Linked DNA regions of Homo sapiens: region 2 is linked to region 1. The links are contacts of gene promoters, found by promoter capture Hi-C in blood cells and fetal thymus (Javierre and others, 2016). All regions are on one chromosome and are shown on one strand. Each heading gives the region's core, a stretch centred on a gene start or on the middle of the fragment in contact. The rest is flanking DNA. Distances are from core to core; before and after follow the strand shown. Region 1 holds the start of IQSEC3-AS3 (IQSEC3 antisense RNA 3). Region 2 holds the start of IQSEC3-AS2 (IQSEC3 antisense RNA 2).

What was found. Contacts are between HindIII fragments. The CHiCAGO score rates a contact against its expected background, and 5 or more counts as called.
Region 2: a fragment that was not itself captured here is called in contact with the fragment with the promoter of IQSEC3-AS3 in region 1 in 3 of 17 cell types (M2 macrophages, M1 macrophages and M0 macrophages); the score reaches 5.5 in M2 macrophages.

What each region holds. Positions count from the first base shown.
Region 1 is chr12:144,372-150,947 of GRCh38, forward strand. IQSEC3-AS3 (IQSEC3 antisense RNA 3) reads right to left here and starts at 4,798. Exons shown (of 10, transcript NR_033859.2): 1 at 4,708-4,798; 2 at 1-198. The region is part of intron 5 of IQSEC3 (IQ motif and Sec7 domain ArfGEF 3); the gene reads left to right. RefSeq lists enhancers at 794-1,295, 1,296-1,795. The HindIII fragment of the contact is 4,344 bases long and covers 3,875-6,576 here.
Region 2 is chr12:105,146-111,832 of GRCh38, forward strand. All of the region lies in intron 2 of IQSEC3 (IQ motif and Sec7 domain ArfGEF 3), which reads left to right. IQSEC3-AS2 (IQSEC3 antisense RNA 2) reads right to left here and starts at 6,616. Exons shown (of 2, transcript NR_184284.1): 1 at 6,474-6,616; 2 at 1,379-1,732. The HindIII fragment of the contact is 4,546 bases long and covers 1,551-6,096 here.

The DNA of each region.
Region 1 (6,576 bases), core at 3,548-6,047:
CTGCCCCCGCCTGGTGACATTCAGCAAGCGGTATTCATTCTGTACAAAGCTGTTTGCCGAATAAAAGGATATAAATCACCCATCCCCTTGGAGACTAAAACAGCCCAAACCGCAGCACTCTCCCAAGAAGCAGCCGATGAGGAAGAGCCGATGAGAAAGCCTCTGAGAGGGGAAGGGTGTGCTTCCCAACCGTCAGGCCTGTGCGGAAAGGAAGAGGAGGGAGAGAGCAGCTGCCACCTCGGCTGCTGGTCTGTGTCTGAGCATCATGAATGCTGTGACATTTGCTTTCAGAATTCGGCCCTCAGCGCTCTTGGAAGCTGACATCTCCATCCTTTTGTATCTTATTTTCACAGAAGACACATTCCAAGAAGGAATGTATTCTTACCAGGCCTTATCAAATGACAATAATAGAAGGCATTCTGAGCTCAAAGAGCCACACCCATTCCAGTGTTTACCTGCAAAGGTTTCGCTTTTGGTTTTTTTGAGACAGAGTCTTGCTCTGTTGCCTGGAGTGCAGTGGTGCAACCATGGCTCACTGCAGCCTTAAATTCCCAGGCTCAAGAGAACCCCTCACCTCAGCCTCCTGAAGAGCTGAAACCACTGGCATGTGCCACCACACCTGGCTAATTGTTAAATATTTTTGTAGCGATGGGGGTCTCACTGTGTTGCCCAGCTGGTCTCAAACTCCTGGCCTCACACAGTGCTCCCACCTCAGCCTCCCAAAATGCTGGAATTACAGGCATGAATCACTAGGCCCAGCCTGTTTGTTTTTAGAGAAGAAATCAGCCTCAGTTTCCTCATTAGTAAAATGCTGGTAAGAGTACCTGTCTCATATGAATCAAACGTTTTCAATGTACATGAAGTGCCTGATGCTTAGTAAGTTATCTGTAAATGTTAGCTCTTTCTTTTCTTTTTCTATTAGAGACAGGATCTCTCTTTGTCACCAGGGCTACTGGGCAGTGGCATGATCAAAGCTCGCTGCAACTTGAACTCCCGGGCCCAAGTGCTCCTCCTACCTCGGCCTCCTGAGTAGCTGGGACTACAGGCTAAATGTTAGCTATTTCATTATTATCTTTTCTACTTAAAAGCACAGACATTAGAACCCTCCACTCCCCGCCATCCCATTCCCCGCGCACAAGGAAACCTCCTCAAACATGACTCAAACTCAGGTCTACTAGGCAGACAATGAGAACTTGCTGGAACTTGCTGGGCTTTGCTGGGAAGGGGGTCAGCTCAATCTGGGGAGCATCCTGCAGCCTGAGGAAGCCCGGTCCAGAAGCTGAGAGTCACGCGGTGGCAGGCCAGCGGCAGGAGCCAGACAGCAGCCAGAGCTAGGGCCCTCTAGGGCTGGAAGCCTCTCCCTCTCGGTTTTCACATGGCTGGGGAATTTGGCTCTGCTCTATTTCCTTTCTGAAATGTTCGCTTCAGCAGGTTTAAAGTCCAGCGGATGGGGAACGTTCCATGCTGGCTGTGAGCGGCCTCTTTCTGGCCTGGATGATTTTTTCTGGTGTGAATCCCATGCACGTGGAGAGCATTGGTGTCTACCATCTCCATGAAATGCAGGAAGGCAGCTTCTGGGTTGAGCTGCCGGAAGAAAGCTTCCTGGGTGTTCCTTCCCTCCACTGCGTCTGCTCCATCCTTTGTTAAATTCCAAGACATATCAGGGTTTGACGTTTGGGTCAGATTTCATTATTTTATTTCCATGGAAATATGTTGGCCAGAGTATAACAGATTTGTTCTTCTTAGAGGACGTTTAGAAATGAAGACAGATTGTCTGTCAAATTCAACAGTCTGGAAGGCTCTGGCCTTTCATTGCTAGGAAGAAATCATTTGAGAATGTCCTGCCCACATTGCTGTGTATAATCTCAGTTACCTTATTCCTGAGGAATTCCCATGAGGAAGGGGAGAGCAGGCTGGGGCCCAGGCAGACCTTATGTGTCCGGAGGAGATAAAAAGAGGCCCAGGCAGGGATTGTGGCTCACACCTGTGGTCGCAGCACTTTGGGAGGCCAAGGCATCAGAATCACTTGAACCTAGGAGGTTAGGGCTACTGTGAGCTCTTACGGCACCACTGCACTCCAGCCTGGGCAAAAGAGACCTCATCTCTACAAAAAAATTTTTTTTAAGTAGCCAGGTGTGGTGGCGGGCACCTGTGGTCCCAGCTACTCGGGAGGCCAAGGCAGGGGAATCACTTGAGCCCAGGAGATGGAAACTGCAGTGAGTTGTGACCGTGCCACTGCACTCTAGCCTGGAAGCCTGGACAACAGAGTGGGAGCCTGTCTCAAAAAAGAAGAAAGAAAGAGAGAAAGAGAGAGAGAGAGGAGAGTGGGAGGAAGGGAGGGAGGGAGGGAGGAGGAAGAAAGAGAGAGATAGATAGAGAGAGACAGAGACCCAGTGCAGGCAGGCAGGAATAGAAGAGTTAGGGTCATTTCCACTGCTTTGGAAACGGTACACTGCCAGCACCAGAAGGCTGGAAGGAGAACATCTTCAAAAGTGGTGTCTTTGGGGTTATGGCCTTGACCCTTCACCTCTCCACTCTCTCCTGCCCCACTCCCACCACAGATAGACAAGGGATTCTCCTGAACAGTCAACAGTTGTGAGAGTTTAAGACCTACTTACTTCTGTAGCTGGAGACCTTGGGACCTTCAGTCCAGGATTGAGACTCCCTTTGGCTTCGTCACTTTGGCATATAAATTGGACTTTTATATAAAAATGGACCTACCTGCCACCCAGTCCTCCCCTGACTACTCAGGCCTTTGCTCTGGAGGAGTCAGTCTCCTCTGTGTGATAGCTGTGGCTGCAACAGGCCACTCGGACGTGGGCCTTCTAGAAGGGTCTTCCGGGGTGTCACTGTCTCCAGGGCAGGGCTGTCATATCTCCAGGAGGGCCGTTTGTGACCAAGCAGGCCGTGAAATATTATGCCAGCTCACACAGATCAGCATGTGCTGTGTGCCACAGGTGCTGTTCTGAGAGGCTTACATGCAAAACCTCGTTCCATCTTCACAGCGACTCCGGGAGGGACGTGCTGCTAATCTGTACCCAATGAAGGCACTGAGGAACAGAGAGGTTGGGGAGCTTGCCCACAGTCACAGAGCTGATCAGTGGCTGAGGTCTGAAGCCAGGCACAATGACTCATCACCTGAGCCCTTAACCCTGCACCATCCAGCCTCCGTGCGTCATTCCAGGACCCCTGTGGTCCGGTTGCTCTCACAGTCCTTGTCAGTCCCCCATCATGAATCATGACACTGAAGACCCCTTAGACAATCAGCTGGTCCAGCCCTCTCATTTTACCCTGGCAGAAACTGAGGCCCTGGGGAAAAGAAATGACTAGTCTCCTGGCCAGCGGCAGAGAAATTGAACAAAATCAGGTACTCTCCCACCTCTTACCTTGGCGTTATTTGCTATGCCCCGATCCTCTCAATTTGGGAAGAAAGCACAGCTGAGAAACTGATTCGTAAGTCTCAAGAGGTCTGAGCCAGATTTAGCTTCCTCTCTCTGGTGCATGTATATCTTAAAGGGCCGACGGATGGCTGTCTAATGATACAATTCCAGGCAGAATTAGTCGGTGGGGCAGGGAGGGGTCCTGTCCACTGACAGGCGGGTCAGCCCACACCTAATGAAAATGATCATGTATTAAGCCCTGTTGTATACCAGGAACTTCACACCCACTGCCTCCTTTAACACTCATAACACCCCTGCCCAGTAGATGTTCTCAGTGTTGTCTCCATTCTCAAGGTGAGGAAATGAGCCACCAAGAGGCTCCATGACTTGAAGTAACAGCTCCACGGCCTTTTCTTAATCCACCCACTGTTATTGGCATAGAGCAGTGCTTCCAAAAGGTGGTCCCTGGACCAGCAGCGTCAGCTTCACCTGGAAGCTTGTTAGCAATGCAAACTCTCAGTTCCCGCTCCAGGCCCACTGAATCAGACTCTGCGGCTCGGGGCCCAGCAATCCGTGCACTAATAAACCCGCCACGCAATTCCAATGCATCACTCAGTTTGAGACCCACCAGCAAACAGGGATGCTGCCGAGCCCAGCAAAAGAAAAATCAGCTCAGGGCTTCTAAATTGTAAGGGTAGTTTGAACTTAGTTCTTTGGGTACCTGAGTCTCAAGGTGTGAGTGGCAGCCAGCCCTACCCAGGCCCCCTCAAAAGAGAGTTTCTTCGTCCTCATGACATCACCAGGAACACTGGCAGATCCTGCATCAGCTTCCTTCTCTTCTATTTTCTTAGCCGCATCGCACTTTGCCAAAACGCCTTGACCTTTGTTGAGCATGTTATGAATTCTGACGAATAAAATAACTCTCTGGAGGATGGGGATATTTTTAATTGAATTGTAGAAGCCAACAACTGCCAAATAAAGCCAGGGTTTCTACATTCCGTGGCAATAGGTGGTTTAGATTTCCTTCCTAATCCTGAAACCTGGGCTTAGTCTCAGCCAGGAGCACGAGCTAGGGCTTCACCTTCCAGATCTTCGCCGTCTCTTCCAGCCAATTAAAAATCCCTGCTGCTACCATTACCTATTTTCAGCTCCCAACCAGTTCCTTTGTCTGCCAGACACTGTCTTGCTATCATTAAAAAAAAAAAAGAAGGTTGAGATGATGAAATTCATTTTGATCACAGGCGTGTAGGACGCTTCATTTCCCTGCAACACAAACTGATTCCACGCACAGATCAATGTTAACAAGCAATTTTATGCAAGATTGTACCTGTTTCTTCAGAGGCAGGGAACATACATCCTTTTTCCCCAACGCTTGTGAGGTATTTGCTGCAGACCTTGCAGAAGCTCACAGGAAAGAGGGGGAGGCCTTAGCAAAACCGGTACCACTCGTGATCCACGCGCCCGTCAGCAGCACCTCCTGAGACAGGTCCGGTCATGCCTGGCTGGAAGCGGTCTAATCGGTGCCCATTGCTCTAGTTCTCAGCACTCACTCACTTGCATGTGCAGTGGGAGGAAGGGGGCCTATGCCCTCCACACTGCCTCACTGCCTGGAGTCTGGAAGCCTCGGGGCCATTTGCAAGTCCATCACAGGTCTCGGTGTCAGCTCCAGATAATCTTGGCAGCAAAGCAGGCTGAGTAATCCTGGGCCGTTGGGTAGAACTTCCAAAGGCACAGGCCACTGAGGCTCCTTCTCCAGCTGCCGGCATGCAGTCATTCCTGGTCATCTCTCACTCACTCATTCATTCATCCCACAAAACAGTGATTGGGTGCCCATACACCAGGGAGGCAGAGATTAAAATAACTGCCCTATCTTGAAGGAGCCCGTAGCCTCGTGGGGAAGACAGGCAGGCAAATGTTATGACACAGGGAGATAAACGCAATGGTCGACAGAAGGTGGGTTCCGGGGACAACGGAGGTCAGGGAAGACTCCTAGAGAGGATGAGAGCTAAACAGAGACCTGCAGGGTTGGGGCTGGGCAGCAGGAAGAAATAACAGCATGCACCAAAGTGGGGGCGTGAGAGCCAGGCTGCAGGGGGGGACCATGCTGGGGAAGCGGCGAGAGAAGCTGGAAGCAGACAGGGCGTCTTTGCTTTGCTGAGAAACTTGGGTTTCACACTAGGGATGTGGGGAGCCCTGGGAGAAATGTGAGCAGGGACATGAGCTATGATGCCAAGTTAGCAGCCTAGAAGGATGGCTCTGAAGATGGTTTGGAGGCAGGGAGACTGGTGAGAAGGCTACTGCTGTTAACAGCCATGATGAGAAAGGATGAAGCCCTAAACTGCGGCTGTGGGCATGGGGAGGGGAGAAGTTGGCAGAGCCCAGGGCCGTGGAGAAGCAGCAGGGCCATGGCCCACGTGGGAGGGAGCCAGGCAGCCAGCGCACAGCCAGTGGTCTCCGAGCTGATGAGAATTCAGAATACGCGTGTGCTTCAGGCCCCCTGTGTTGGTACTCCATCTACCAAATAAACACGTACAGATTTTCCATTTCAGAGGCAGGGAGATGCTGGATTCAGGGACATTTCATCTGAAGAATCTATCAAACTAGACATTGTCAAATATTTACTCAAGCAAGTTAGACTGTTAGCTAGCTAGAGCCACTGGAATGGGGGCAGCCACTAGCATGGGGGCAGCCACCTGGACAGTGGTTGTTGAGAGGGGGATAGGGCCCAGTTTCAGGTCAGTGAGGAGGGGCAGCTGCAATGGATGAGGGGCTCCTCCAGAGGAAAGAGTCCACCTGGGGAGGGAGGGTGATGGAAGCCAAGAAGACGGTGTTTCCAGAAGGGAGCAATTAACCATGTCGATGCTGCCAAGGGGCTGGGATGAGGACAGAGATAGGCCGTTGGATTTGGCCACATAGCAACCAGCAATGGCCGTGACAAGAGAAGTGTTAATGGTGCCTGGGGTTGGATGCTTGAGTGGAGCAGGTTGAAGAGTGAATGGAGAAGAGGAAGTGGAGGCAGCAAAGAGGAGAGAAGAGAGGCAGTGTCTAGAGAGCAACGAGGGCTCAAGGCAGGGTTCTGATTTGTAAGATGAAAAAGACAAGCACTTGGGTGCTCCTGAGGATGATTCAGTAGAGGGGAGGCGTGGTAGCTATCTGAAAGAACACCTCAAACTTCGTGTGCCCCAAGATGGAGACT
Region 2 (6,687 bases), core at 2,574-5,073, 40 kb before region 1:
CAAGCTCTGGGTCTCTGCCTCCCGCCCCAGGAAAGCGATGGCGGCAGGGGAGGTTAAAGGAAGTGTTCTTTGTCTCCTTCATGGTTCACTGGTTGGTTGGGAGAGGTCTTTGGAGAGGTTGGGATGGGGTGAAAATCCCCACAAGCCCCCTGCAGTGGCGGGAGCATCTTGCCCGCTGGCAGGGGCAGGGTGGGGGCGGGAATCCTGGGGTTTGAAGCCTGGGCTCTGGGGTGGGACAGAGTGGCACCTGCACAGAGGGGAGCATCCTGGGGACAGGGGGCTTGCTCCTGTGGATTGGGCTTTGAGAGCAGGTGTGCTCCTGGGTGATCTGAGGAGCTGTGTAGTTAGAGCAGAATCCAGCCGACCTGGGCTCCATGCCCAGGAAGATGGCCGAATTCCGACGTGGAGCTACAGGAATCTGCCCTAGGGAACTGTGTGACCTGTCACTTTACCACCCTGTGCATTTTTGTCTCATTTGTCCTGAATCGCCAGATTCAGGAGGCATAAAAACCAAAATAGAGGTCAAAGTACTTTGACACTTTGGGAGGGCGTATTAAAATATCCCAGAGAGTATTAGGAAGGTTTTGTCTTGTCATTGAGTTTTGACTTTCTGTCCAGAGGGCTCTCCTCAGCAGGGATGTGAAACTCCTGTTTGGAGTCAGCTATTTGCCCAGGCCAATTTCCTTGTGTAATTTTCCCTGCCAGGCCTTGAGCATCCTCTGAGACTGGCCCCTTCATGTGACCTAGGCTGTCGCCAGAGGGTGCTTGGGAAACCTGTTGGTGCTTGGGCTGCCCTCAAATTGCTGCTCGTTAAGGCACGCAACTTTTTGTCAGCAGCATGTTTAGAGATGATTGGAGGAGAAGTCCTGCTAACTCTGTGTCGGTTTTGTGTCTCCCACCCATGAGAGAGAGGAAGCAAATACTAGCCACCATGTCCTGAGTGCTTGCTATGTGCTATGCAAGAATTATCTTGTTTAACCCCTAATAGAAGCTGGTGAAATATTATTCCCATTTTACAGACAAGGAAACTGAGGATCAGAGACAACGAATGCCTTGAGCATGGTCCATGTGGCTGATGAAGAGCAGAGCTAGGTTTTGAACCAGGTGCTTGTCAGTTGCAGCCTGTAACCACCAGGGCAGGAGGATAGCAGAAGGCAGGTGTTGTCAAGTATGGGAAGCGAAAGTGAGGCAGGAAGGTGAACAGCTGCTTCCCATGTCCCCAGCCACAGCCAGCGGGTGGCTGAGAGCACATAGGTTATTGTTCAGGGCCTCAAAAGGCCTGGCCTCTCTTCCCTGCCCCTCCGCCCTGCCCCTTGAGGCCATGTGTGGACTCCAGAGGAGTGACGCAGAGAATATTTTTAGGGACAGAAACAGCAACAACAGCAATGCTAGGCTTTATTAGTTAAGGAAATACCCCTAACTAAAGATAATACTTCCAGAACAAGTGAGAGATGCCACGAGGAACATCTAAGCTTTCTCTAGTCCAGGGTATTCGGTAATGCAGTTTTATCCAGTTTTCTGGGAAATATGTTCTTGTTTCATTTACTGGAAGCTTCTTGTTGGAATCTTTTGTATCTTCTTTTCTCACTTCCAGGAAGAGTAACCTTTGTAGGCGTAGAGATTTTTCTAATCCCACTATTTCTTGTGCTTTGTTTTATTTTCTCTTCTGAAAGTTCTTTACCCATTCACTTATCTTCTGACCAATAACATGACCATAAAAATGATTTTGTATCTGTTTGTATGACAAAAAGGGTTTTTAATTTGTTTCATCAAACCAAAAACGAAGAAATAATCTATAGCAAGAGTGATTTGATCAGATATGGCATTCTTAAGACATTTTACTGCCCTCAAGAGACCATGGAATGGCTTAAGAAACGAGGTTTTTAGAGATTTCTTTTATTATGATTAAAAAAACAAAACAGGAAGGACAGCTGCCTATGAAGAAAGACTGGAGTGTGTTGCTGTCTCCAGCAGGGACACTTTCCATAATTCCTTTAGCACCCTCAAGTTAAAGTGGCTCCCATTGTCTGAATCAGTATTTTCTACCAGGCCAAATCTGGGTATAATTTGTTCTAAGATTATTTTGACCACATCCCCGGCAGTGGCAGCTGGGAGGGGAAGGCCTCCACCCTGGAGAGGTGGTCTACCATTACCAGCAGATACGTTAGTCTCCCTATTTTGGACATTTCTGTAAAATCTACTTGAATGCTTTGAAATGGCCTTAACCCAGGAGGTTTCCCTCCGGTAGTCTGTTTTCTTTTTTTTTTTTTTTTTTTTTTTTTGAGACGGAGTCTTGCTCTGTGGCTCAGGCTGGGGTGCAGTGGCACAATCTCGGCTCACTGCAAGCTCCGCCTCCCGGGTTCACGCCATTCTCCTGCCTCAGCCTCCCGAGTAGCTGGGACTACAGGTGCCCGCCACCGTGCCCGGCTAATTTTTTTGTATTTTTAGTAGAGACGGGGTTTCACTGTGTTAGCCAGGATGGTCTCGATCTCCTGACCTCGTGATCCGCCCACCTCGGCCTCCCAAAGTGCTGGGATTACAGGCGTGAGCCACCGCGCCCGGCCGGTAGTCTGTTTTCTAACTACCTTTTTGTTTATTCTCTGGCAGGTCACATAACACCCACACACTTGTTTAACAAGGGTGTAGATCCCTATACACCCGTAATTCTTGAGTATTGCATCACACATGGCCTGGGGACCCCAGTGACCTCCCTTACAGAGTATGGATATCAGTTCTCTCCTTGTGAGTTTGCTTATCATTTCGGTCCCATCAGGGAGCACCCACCTCCCATCCTCAGTTTGAGTGGCCCTATCTTGCCCAGCTCTTCCTCCTCCTCTTCAGAAAGTTGGGGTTTTAATACCACCTTAGGGATATCTGGGATTAGGCCAAATAGTTTAACTTCTACCTCCAGGGAGGCTGCTTAGCAGCTTTATCCACAAGCCTGTTCCCTAACCCTAACCCTAACCCTAACCCTAACCCTAGCTTCTATAGAGTTTCCTTTCTGATGGCCGTTTACATGAACTATGGCTACCTCTGCTGGAAGCAGGAGGCTTTTTAAAACTTGTTTGACCAGTTTCCCATATACCAATTCTTTCTACCTGCTATTTATTAGGCTCCACTTTGTCCAGATCTTTCCAAAGGTGTGTACTACTCCATAGGCATATCTGGAAATAGCATATACAGTGCCTTCTTGGCCTTATATGAGCTTCAGGGCTTGGTTAAGAGCATGTAATTCACAGGTTTGGGCTGAGCAGTTATTGGGTAATCTACCTTTTTCTCATAAGGTTTGTTTGTTTCCATCAATGACAGCCTGGACATTGTGTCTTTTACCATCTATCACTCAGGATGGCCTATTCACAAACAGCCTCATTCCATCGAGTAGTGGAATTTCTTTAAGGTCTGGTCTAACTTTGGTTTGATATTCTATCATATGTAAACAGTTATGGTCTGATACCTGCTTATTCTCCTCTCATTTCCGTAAGAAACTGACTGGAGTTCATTTAGGCGCCTTTCCAGGGCCCACTGACCCCAGGAGGAACTTGAGGAGGCAAGGGGCTGACCAGCTGGCCTTTCAGGGTGTCTTTAGCCGGGCTCTGCCGGGTCTGGCTCTGGGCCAACAGCTGCTGGTTTGAAGAGCTGCCAGCCTGTGGTGCCTTCCCTGATGGGCACTCTCATCAGCAAAGGCATCCCTGGCTCCTTCTTTGCTTTGAAGGCACCATCCGTCTCCCTGGCAGGCCGAGAGCTGCACTGTTTGTATTCCACGCCACCCCTGCTGGTGACCCAGCAACTGCAAAGGGTCCCAGGTTTGTCCCGCTCTGGGAGGGGACTTGGTGGCTTTTCGTCAGCTGCAAGGGTCGCCCCTTGGCCCAGCCCAGCTCTGGGAAACAGAACTTTTATACACCCCACCTCAAAGCATCCTGGCGGACTTCTCCCCAGCACGCGCTCTCTCTACTTCAGGGATTGCAAACTGGCATTTTCTATCACCTGTATTGGGTTATTAAGTTTTTTTAACTGATCACCAGCATTTAAAAATCCTGTTTCACATAAAAAGTCAGAATTCTGGCCTCTGACAAAGCAGACAGTCTGGCAACACAGGGCTGGCACTGTGAGAACAGTCGAGCAGCTGCAGAGGTGTGCCCTCTTCAGTTAGCCACAGTCCCCATCCAGCCCTGCAGCCCTCCTTCTCACCATTTGCTGGCCGTGTTGTCCTTTGAGTTTATAACCCTAGTTCGGATCTTCCTTATGTAGCCCCCCGGCCTCTCTGCAGCCTTACTGACGGCTGCCCCTGGTGGACTCACAGCCTCTCAGTGAAACAGCAGCAAACCTTAATGCTCATCTCATCCACTCACCCTTCCACATCCTGAACCCTTTCTACACCCTCCTGACAAACAGCCATCTAGTCTTTGCCGTACGCAACCCACTATTCCTCAGGCAGCCTGATCCTAAACTCTCCTCCACATCCCCTTCTCACTTGCATCCCCCAGTTCCCGGACCCTGTCCCTCCTCAGTGGCCGCACTGCACCCTTTCCCAGCACCTCCTTGTTGCTTGAGCCTCTAGAACCTTCCCCCAGCCCTGCCAACCTCTCCACATCCTCTCACTTCCTCTTGTACTCTTTCTTCCTTTTGCATTATTTTTCTCCCCAGTCTTAACTTTGGTGTCTCTCTTTGATCTGTCTTTTCCAGTCTCTTGCTCTCGCTCGTTTTCTTTTTCTATCTATCTCTATCATCCTGTTTCCTTTTTCCCTCACACTTAGTTTCTTTCTCTTTCTCTCTCTGGGCACAAGCTAAACTGTGCTGGGCCCTGGCCCCTGACAATCTGCAAAGATGGACAGCTCTGTCGAAACAACAAAGATTCAGCAACAACTTTTATCAACAGCTTTCAGCAGCCAGCTTCCACACACAGTTGTGTGGCCGCCTCTCCCTTGCCTTCAGGGTCAGCAGCTTAACTCTTTCTCTCTCTGGCCCTCTATGTTTGCCATTTCCTCCCCTTTGTCTTTCCAATTTTCTTTTTTACTTTTTCTCTTTCTCCCTTTTCCAGTTTCTCTTTTCTTTCTTCTTACAAAAACCTTCTGAGCTTCCCTCAGTAATTCCTTAATCGGTTTTTCATTCCACCTATCAATCTTTTGCAGTTTCTTAGTAATATCAGGCCAGCTTTTGTCACAGAACTAAGTCCTAAAAGGCCTTGCCCTACTGGGTGCTCTGGACCTAATCCTGAATATTTTCTTATTTGATCCCTGAGCCTCTGCAGAAATGCGGAGGGAGTCTTCTCTTTTTATTGTTGGATCTCGAATGCTTTCAAGACATTTTGTGTTCTAAGAGTGGACTTTTTAATCCCTTTAATTATTAGTTCCCTTGGGTCCTGCACTGGGGCCTGATCTCTGAGGTTATTGTTATCCCCTCTGGGATTTGCATTTGGGAATTTCTGCTCAGCTGGCAGGACTCCTTACCCGGGAGAATGGGGTCTCTCCCAAATGGTCATGGCTGCCCTTATAATCATTCCCCTCTCTTCCCCAGGAAACAGAATATTTATGATTGACATTATCTTAGCCCAAGTATAAAAATGGGGTCATAAAAATTGATCTAGCTGCTCTGCTAAACCGAGGGGGTCTTCCCAGAGTGGCCTCATTTTCTTTTTAGAATTCTGAACCTCAGTACTTGCTAGAGGCACACTCACAAACCCAACAAACCCAACTCCTCTCTGTCCCGTAGAGACTTCTCTAAGAGGGTACCTGTTAGACATCTGCTGTTTAGAAGGAACGGGGAAATTCTCAATGTCCTTCTTACATTGTTCTAATTCTTTCCTCTAGTTTGGATAAGGATTTAAGGAAGCATTGGGTTTAGCTTCTTCGTGACCCCCCGATTCCTCTTCCTCCGACCTTCTTGCTGCCCCCCGATCGCCCTGTTCTGTTCTTCCTGAGATGTATGGGGGGGCAAGCGTGTTAGGGGATCCCAGGGCTTTTCATTGGGTGAGGGCTTTTTACTATGCTCTTTTTCTTCTTTTTAAAGGGGAACATGGGGGTTAATTCACTAATCCAACAAAGAGCATAACCTGTCTCCTCTCGTGAGGATGGAGTTTTATTATTCACAGAAAATTAAAGCTTGGCACACCCAATCCTCATCTGAGCCAAACTCAGGCCAAAAGACCAAAGGTTGACGAATGGGCTTTTTGGGCCAGATAAAACAACAAACTTTATCATCTTTTGCTTTTCCTTGTCCCTGGTTTGAGGACTATCCCTTCAAACCTGCAGCATTCTCCCCAGCGGACTATTTGGGGGAATGTCAGAAGGGTTCTCTTTAGTTCCCTCTTTCCTCTGTTCTCTAGGCCTAGAATTCTTGTTTCCCATTTTTGGTTAGTCTCTGTGTCTGAGCTTTTCCCTGTGTACTCAGCCTCCCTTACTGGAGGTTTCTTACACACCCCAAGACCTCCGAAAATGCACAACTACCAAGCAGTACTTACAGATCAATTTTCCTACCTTGGCTCATGCGTGAGGTTGCCTGGTTGCCTGCTTTTCTCCCTGTGTCACTTTAGTTGTCTCCTGAATAACAGTTTCAGGTTTGTCTATGGCTTCTTCGGGGAGCTGAGACACCTGGACAGAGTGGGCCACACAAATCGAGTGGGACACATCTCCCCTGTCAGCTGGAGTCTCACTCCATGCAGGCATGGAAATCCCCATATGGGCCACCAGG